Regions from separate parts of the Homo sapiens genome. Here regions 1 and 3 are each linked to region 2. Evidence: promoter capture Hi-C in human tissues and cell types (Jung and others, 2019). All regions are on one chromosome and are shown on one strand. Each heading gives the region's core, a stretch centred on a gene start or on the middle of the fragment in contact. The rest is flanking DNA. Distances are from core to core; before and after follow the strand shown. Region 1 overlaps ARL6 (ARF like GTPase 6). Region 2 holds the start of GPR15 (G protein-coupled receptor 15). Region 3 overlaps CRYBG3 (crystallin beta-gamma domain containing 3).

Region 1 (2,700 bases), core at 131-2,630, 730 kb after region 2:
ATTGCCTAGGACTATGTCTGACTAGTTGGTGTAGAGATGTTCAACATACACTGAATAAATAAATTCAGCTTAACTTAGTCTCAGATGGTTTACAAATGCTTGACAGTATGACACGAAATACCATACTAACAGAGCATTATTCTTTTCAGCATAAACAAAGCGCACTAGTTGGCACATTATATTTTACATTTTATTGACAGTGACACATAGTAAAAATTGAATATATATTAATTACCCATGGTCCCTTATAAATATTTAAAGTTCTTTTTCACAAGCACAATTCATACTGCAAAGTCATAAACTAAATTTTTTAAAAAGACAATTAAAAAATAAAATATATTAAACATATCATAAATTATGATGGGATGAGATGGCTTATAACTGACTTTTAAACATTCTACGTACAATCAAATGTAGACCTTCACTAAGAACTTGATAATTCTAGGGAGCCCTTTTGAGGGAATATTTAGTTTTTAAATAATTAATGGCCAAATTAGCATACCTGAAGTCCTATGTTCTTAAAAAGGTCAGAGTCCATAAATGCAAGCAGAAAATTATATTTTTTGATGCATAAACATCTTTTACAAAATGTATTCTATTTGTCTTAGATAGATTCCTTGAATTGAAAATTGCTGAGGTTTCCAACTATTATCTTTTCATGTCTTCACAGTCTGGATCTGATCTGATAACAAAAAACAAACAAAAATTATCAATCTCTATAGGGCAAAATCTATTTTCTAAAGTAATCTAAGTCAAATCTATACAACATGTTGGAAACTTATGTATACATGTGCTTTTGTTATTATTATTTTTTAGAGATAGGATCTTGCTATGTGGCCCAGGCTGTACTGGAACTTCTGGGTGCAAGTGGTCCTCCCACCTGAACCTCTCTAGTAGTTGAGACTACAAGTGTGCACCAGGTCCAGCTACACCTGCTTTTTTAAAAGCACAATTCATCTATAGTTATTATTTTTATCAAAGTTGTACATTTGCATAGAGTCAACTAGTTCTATGAGATTTCTAGGCAAAACAGCAGTACTTTGCTTCTTCTCCATTCCTCCCTTTCAGGGGCAACTACTTATAACTCCCTTTTAGATGAATACTTATAATACCTCTAAATAATATACTTTTATTGTTACTTCTTCAAATATCATTTCCTTCAATGTAATATGAGACATCAGCTCTCTCACACTCCCATGCTGCTCCTAGGCAACCCTCATAATACTTCTAATACCCCCATTCTCCTAACACACTAATATAGTCATTGTCAATATGATGACTCTGTAAATGCTATTCACAGCTAAGACAGGTGGTATACTTTTTCTTTCCTCTTCTATATTTTATCCCTCCTAGAGTTAATAATTGTCTTTCCCACTCCCATCCAACTCATCTATTTAATTGTATGTACTTAACACTAATTCAATTGCACCACTCCCAGAGTTTAAACCTTTATTACTATGAAGTACATTACACAGTCCATCTACTTTGCCTTCTTGAAGAACTCTTCCACAGAGTCTTATAAAAAACTCTAGAATCTATACTCATTTTCTCTATGCCTGCCACAGTCATTTTGTTACAATATCTTCCTTATCATTCTAGGGTCTCCATTAATATCCTGGGGATTCCTTCCCCTACTCTCTGTGCTGGTTTTCCTGTCTCATGATCCCTCAATTTTCTCTTCTTGGTTTATTTCCTTTTATTTTTTTGATAATGCTGGTACCAAGATTTTCCTGTTTTTGAAAAATATTCTTCTCAGTGGCTACCTTAGTAAAAAGGACAGAAAGTAAATTCTTGAGATACCATATAGCTGAAGATGTCTTTATTCTACTGTCAAAATGCACTGATACTGCCTGAGTATATAATTCTATTATTCCCTCCTTGGACTCTTCCAGGCATTTCCCAATTATCTTACAGCTTCCAAGTTGTTGCTGTTGATAAATCTGATGTTATTCTGTTTTCTTATTCTTTTTTTCCTCAGGAAGCTTTAATTTTTTTTCTCAGGAAGCTTGCAGAATCTTCCACTGTTTGCAGCACTGCATTTTAGTAATGATACCTGCTGGTATGGGAATATTTTTATCCACTGTATTGAGCTCTTGAGAGGCCTGTCAACTGAAAACTCATCAATTTAGTTCTAGAAAATACTGTTCGAGGATTTGCTATCCTCTACTTTTTTCTGTTCTCTCTTTCTGAATTTCCTATTATTTGGATATTGGGCCTCCTGAACATGACCCCTTTCTTTTCTTTCAAATTTTCTATTCTTTGTCTTTCTGCTCTACTTTCTGGGAGTTTGCCTCTATTTTATCATCTTTTTAAAACTAAATTTTTCATTTCAACTACTATATTCTTATTTTCCAAGAACTCATTTTTTTTCGTTCTTTCTTTTCAAGTAGTTTACTGCCTTTATTCATGAAAGTAACACCTTCTCTTATCTCTTTGAGGATACTCTTTAACAGTTTTTTGAAATGTTCTCTCTATATAAATTCTACTTACTCGAACCCACTTTTCTTGTTTGTGCACATTCCCATATTTCATAATGTTTTCATCCTCAAATGCCTGGTCATCCTTTGCCATCTGTTCATATGTATAAGTGAACACTAAAAAATTGATTGGAATTTGCAAACGTGTGTGAAGCTTGTCAAATATGGTCTTCCTTTTAGTACGTCTGGCTAAGCCATTTCCTTGGGATCTCCAATATTAATA
Region 2 (2,700 bases), core at 101-2,600:
GCAAGGGTCGAAGAAGGCTGCTTAGCTGAGAAAACAGCACATGGCCTAATTATATCCACAACACAGGGATTTTTCAGTCCTCTCTTTAAAAATGAACTCTTCCTTGCATCTATGAAGCAATGTGAATCCTATCATTAACACTTCCTTCTTTGTTGCTGACAAAAATTAACTCCTAAACCCACCAACAGAGCTTGAAATGTCACAGTTCCCTTTAGAGTGACACAGACCTCTTCCTCCTCCTGGCAAAATCTTCTGCATGAATGAAGGTGGAGAGAGCCTTAGTGAGGTGACTATCTGATGTCTCAGTGCTACTCCCAAAGTCATAGTTTTTCAGGCAAGGGCACAAGCAGTGGACAATGGCCCGGCGGATGTAGCTGTCGAAGATATAGTAAATGAAAGGGTTGACACAGCTGTTGGCAAATGCCAAGGGTCCACTCACCTCCATACCAAGCTGAAGAATAGCTGAGGGTAAATAGTGTTCTTGCCGCAACCCAGAGACAATGGCCAGGAACTTGAAAGTATTGAAGGGCAGCCAGGAGACAAGAAAGGCTGCCACGACAATAAAGATGATCTTTATAGATTTCTTCAGCTTTTTGTTGTGCTTTCCTGATTGCTGGTAATGGGCACACAGCTTCCTTGCAATGCAACAGTAGCAGGTCACAATGCTCAACAAAGGGACAAAAAAGGTGAAAATTAAGGCCACCAGGGACCATATGAGTTTAATTGGAGTTGCCTTTTTCTCTGCACAGTATGGCTTATCATCAATCAGCGTGAGCTCCCTGGACAGAAGAGTAGGCAACCCCAGCAGGCAGGAGATAAACCAGATGCTGGCACAGACTACATATGCACAGTCTGTCCTTCTGAATTTCCTGGATACGACTGGCCACACAATGGCCAGGTAGCGGTCAACACTCATGCAAGTGAGCAGGAGGACACTGCAGTGCATATTGACGGAGATCATGTAGGAGCTCCCTTTGCACAGGAAGGAGCCCGTCCTCCACAGTCCTAGAGATGCTTCTTTATCCACCCAGAGAGGCAATGTGACAAGAAAAATGAAGTCAGAGGCAGCCAGATTGATGATAAAGATGTCGATCAGTCTTCGGCTGCCGGGTTTGAAATGCAACGCTCCCATGAGAACAAGGTTCCCCAGCACTCCAGTCAGGAACACAGCTGTGTAAAAGACTGGAAGGAAGACAGAGGTGTAAGGAACATGGGAGTGGGTCTCCCTGATGTCAGAGTTTGGGCTCGTAGCATAGTAATAATCCAAATAAACTGAAGTTTCTTCTGGGTCCATCACCAAAGAGCAGATGCCAAATCTGGTGAGTTTACTTACATATGATGTTTTTGTATAAATTTTAGAAACCTCAAGGAAGCTTCTTTTATACAGTGCCTGCCTCTCTCTCTCTTTTTTCCCCTCCCTTTAAAGATCTTGGACAAACATGAAAGCCGAGATTAAAAAATGCAGTTTCTACCAATCCTCAGAAAGGGCACACAAGGAGCACCACTCTGATTGGTGTTGGTTGGTTGTGGTTGTGGTTTTTTTAATTTGCATTTGCTCGTGAAACTGAGGTGCTTTTTGAGTTATTTTTTCAAGATATTCAATTTATTTCTTTAAGGCCAGTAATTAAGAAGTGAATTAACTTGATTTTTTCACTTCCTTTAAAGACCTCCTTTGCTTTTGACACTGAAATTTATTTTGATCTAGCCTTCTGTTTCACATAGAAGATATTGTTCTGCTTTTAGAATTGTAAGGCAATGATAATGTATTCTTTTTATTTACTTTGTTGGCGAACTAGGAAGAAAACTAGTCTTTCATTGTGTAAAGAGTGAATGAAAAGTTTCCCAAATCATACCAGTATACAACTAGGTCAAACAACATGATTCCATTTAGGGCATGAGAGTCTCCCCATCTATGTGGCTCTTTCATTTGACATGTAGTCAATCCTGTTTCATAAGTTTTTAAAAATCCCCCCCCAAAGACTGGGACCACGTTTTCTGCTCTTATTATTTTAAGTTTTCCACTACAACTTGCATAGCATCTTGCATATAGTTGGTGCTTTGGAAATTGTAGTTTATTAGGTTTGATTCAGAAAATTCTTTTTGTTATCCAGCATATCTAGTAGAAATGAATTCATTGGGGTCTAACTTCAGGTATTGTTGTTATTTATGTAACTTACAAACACAGGTTTAACAATCTCAAGTTGCTATTTTTACCCTCCTATCTGCTATTGTAATTCAACCAGTGAAGTTCTCTTTTGTTAAGAGTTAACATCATTGATTAGGAGATTTTCTCCCTATTAACCCTCAAATACGCTTCATCAGACTCTGGATCCCCTCTGATCTTCTCTTCATTATACCACACCTGTGTAGCACTGATTTTTTTAGCTTCTGAGCCATGGCCTTCTGGTACCTCCACACATGGGTGAACATCACTTTTGGAATTGCTGATTGCTGATCTGGCAACAGATATACCTATAAGTGACATCATGATGGAGGTGCCAGCATGGACACTATAAAAGGGAAGATTTTTTAGTACATTTAAAACACTTGGGGAACAGGCTAAAACAGAAAGAATTCTATCACATTTTTCTCTCATATGTTTCCTTTTATATTATGATGACCATAGTAAAATATAACACATTTTGAAACGGACTCCATTTATTTCAGCTCTTTACTGGTCAAAGTGACTCAAGGCTCTCT
Region 3 (2,700 bases), core at 86-2,585, 600 kb after region 2:
GCAGGAAAAGATACCAACTTGAGCATAAGTTGTGGGGAGAAGGGGAGAGCTGAGGAAAGCTTGATGTATTACAGCTATGAAAGCTTGGGTAGGGATGACTGACTCAACCTGACCACCACTAAGAAAAGTCCTCCTTGCTCCCCACAACCAAGATCAGACTTGACCAAATTATGGAGAGATGAATGAGATGGATGGCCCATTCTTGACCCCTCCTTCCTACACAAATCTAATCAATCAGACTGGTGGAGAGGCAGGTCAGCATGACCACGGACAGGCTTAGCTGCCTCTCCCGCTGCAGATTCTTTAAACTGTCAGGGAAGTTTCAGTTATAAAATCTAGGTAAGATTTTAGGAAAATGTACCTAATTATATATTGATTTAAATGAATTCCACAGTTGGAAAACTGTGTGGGATGGTGCATTTAAGCATGGCTGTCATCATCACAGATCAAAGATGTGGCATAGCATGGGGATTAAAACAAACCCAACTTGTAACTAAGGGAAGCTGGCTGTACATTAAGTAGTATTCTGTAACCTAGGAAAATCCTTAGGCAGCCTTCACTGTTCCTTACTCCATGTTCCAATTCTCTTAAAGAGAATTTGGAATAGTGAGAGTAGGTGGCTAATAAGCCAAAGAGAAGAAATAAGAATGTCAAGATAAAATGGCACCAGTGTTCCAGAAAAAAATGAAATAAGAAAGTGAGAAATTTTCAGAAGTGAGTCAAGTATCAATTTCACTCAGAAATGGGAAGAAATGAATTAAAATGTTGTGAAAGACCTATATCACAGGGATGTAAAATTTAGTTAATTGGTAAATAATATATTGGAATCTTATGCTTAGATAGAATAAATCAATTTGTCTGAATAAACATCAAACCATTTAAAATGTTTTGCAGAAGAAAACTTAAGCTATTTATACAAGTGTATAATATAAAAGCCATTTATTATAATAGTTTGCTTAATTTTCACCTCCACTTATATTATTGGCTTTCTCTTTATCCCCAGATATTTAAACCAGCACAGTTGATTATCACGGAATTTCAAAGCCATAGAAAAACTTTTAAAGCCATTTTTTTATTAACCGTCAAGAGCTATGTGTGTTTTTTTAGTTGACTTTTGCTACCAGAACACTAACAGTGCAGGAGTAGGGGCTGGTTTATATGCCGGACTCTTCAGAACTGGATTCAGAGGCAGATTTTCCAGGAAGCAAACAGAGCTTCAACTTCAAGGCCCCTCACTTACAGGCTTCTCACCATTTCTGTCCTAAGTATTCACATTGATATCTAATATTTCTATCATAATTTTAAATTTTTTCTTAAAGGCAGCTTTCTAATTTGTAAAAGCACAGGCCCCTGGGTCTACCCTGACTGACTGATAACCTAAATGAACAACAATACTGGTAGGCAGGCTAGGCCAACCAGTGTAGTCCACAGGCAAGTGAGTACCCTGGAGGAACTGCTCTAGAATACATGGCTATTAAATCAAAAAACAACATCGAACTTGGTCTTGCCAGCAGTCACTTGCCTTAAGCAGGAAATTGTCTTAACCAAAGTTGCTGGGATATTGAAATTTCTTCTGAAAAGAAAGTTCAACTGGGTAAAGTCATTTGATTGACCTACTCTATGACACATGCTGTGACCATATGGTAGCCCTTCTCTTCCAAAGGGCTCTTCCTCAAGACCACTTGAATGCGTACTACTACACAGTGGACTTGGTTTGCAACTCTGCAACTCTGTCTTAAAACAGTAACTGAACCAGACCAAGCCTTTTTCCCATACTTACAGTCCACTTTTTACCCACACAGACTGGGTGTAGAAGTGTAGGTCCTTGTTCAGAACAGAGTTCACAGCCTCTTCTAGATGTAACTCTCTTCCCTCACAATGCTCCAGAGCAAAAAGGCTGATGGAGGGTTCTTCAAAAACCTATTAGCAGAAAAAGAAAGCGTCACCATAGGAGTGGCCATATCTCAGTGACATCCCAGTCTGAACACAGGGTACCCTGAATCCATTGTATTCTTAAATGCATGGAGTTTACTGTTTTACTCTCTAAGGTTGCTATAGTCAAAACTGCACTGGAAAGATTAGATTTTATTAATAATTTTTGTTCACTTTTTTGTAAACTAAAATTCAAGTTATCAGAAAAGCAATCAATCTCATAATAAAAACAGCCATAATAAAGAGACCCATGATTCCAAATCACAGATTAAGGTCTTGTGGTACTGTAATATGGACCATAATTAGTCCTGCCAATGCTTTTAGCTGGCAACAGAATAAATATGGAATGGAATGGCACCCTAATTTCTAGGAGGTCACAGGAGCAGTCACTAGGAATGTAAGACTCTGTGGTGGTAAGCTCTTAAAAATATTCCTAGGAGGAAGAATAAAGGCATTTTTAATTTAAAAAAAGCTGAAATGCACAAGAATGGTGGTGATTTCTGCATTAAAAGTATTTCTTCAACCCATCATGTCAGACAAGAATAGACTCAGTATTGCTTTTTCATTCATTAATGTATGCAAGACACCATGTTAAGAGACTTTTGGGGGGATGATAAAACAAGGCACCATCTATCCTTGTGTCTGGGGAATTACTAACAAATAGTTAAATTAAAACTGTACAGATATTGTAATGTAATCCAGTGCAGAAAAAGATATGCTGTGTCAGAGTCCTCAGTAGAAAGCTAGATTATTTTTAGCAGAAGGGAG

The links. The method cuts DNA at HindIII sites, captures the fragments that hold promoters and counts their contacts. A contact is called where the count stands out against the background at its distance.
Region 1: a fragment that was not itself captured here is called in contact with the fragment with the promoter of GPR15 in region 2 in 1 of the 25 tissues and cell types used here (hippocampus).
Region 3: a contact is called between a fragment that was not itself captured here and the fragment with the promoter of GPR15 in region 2, in 1 of the 25 tissues and cell types used here (dorsolateral prefrontal cortex).

The regions. Positions count from the first base shown.
Region 1 is chr3:97,796,006-97,798,705 of GRCh38, reverse strand. ARL6 (ARF like GTPase 6) reads right to left here. Exons shown (of 8, transcript NM_001278293.3): 8 at 1-682. The coding sequence ends at 657. Among named protein-coding and RNA genes, the nearest start is that of CRYBG3, 25 kb to the left of the region's middle. The HindIII fragment of the contact is 3,468 bases long and covers 1-2,700 here.
Region 2 is chr3:98,530,628-98,533,327 of GRCh38, reverse strand. It overlaps GPR15 (G protein-coupled receptor 15), which reads right to left and starts at 1,350. Exons shown (of 1, transcript NM_005290.4): 1 at 1-1,350. The coding sequence starts at 1,294. The coding sequence ends at 212. RefSeq lists a silencer at 1,330-1,489. The HindIII fragment of the contact is 5,385 bases long and covers 530-2,700 here.
Region 3 is chr3:97,932,914-97,935,613 of GRCh38, reverse strand. It overlaps CRYBG3 (crystallin beta-gamma domain containing 3), which reads right to left. Exons shown (of 22, transcript NM_153605.4): 18 at 1,781-1,920. Among named protein-coding and RNA genes, the nearest start is that of RIOX2, 38 kb to the left of the region's middle. The HindIII fragment of the contact is 3,013 bases long and covers 1-2,700 here.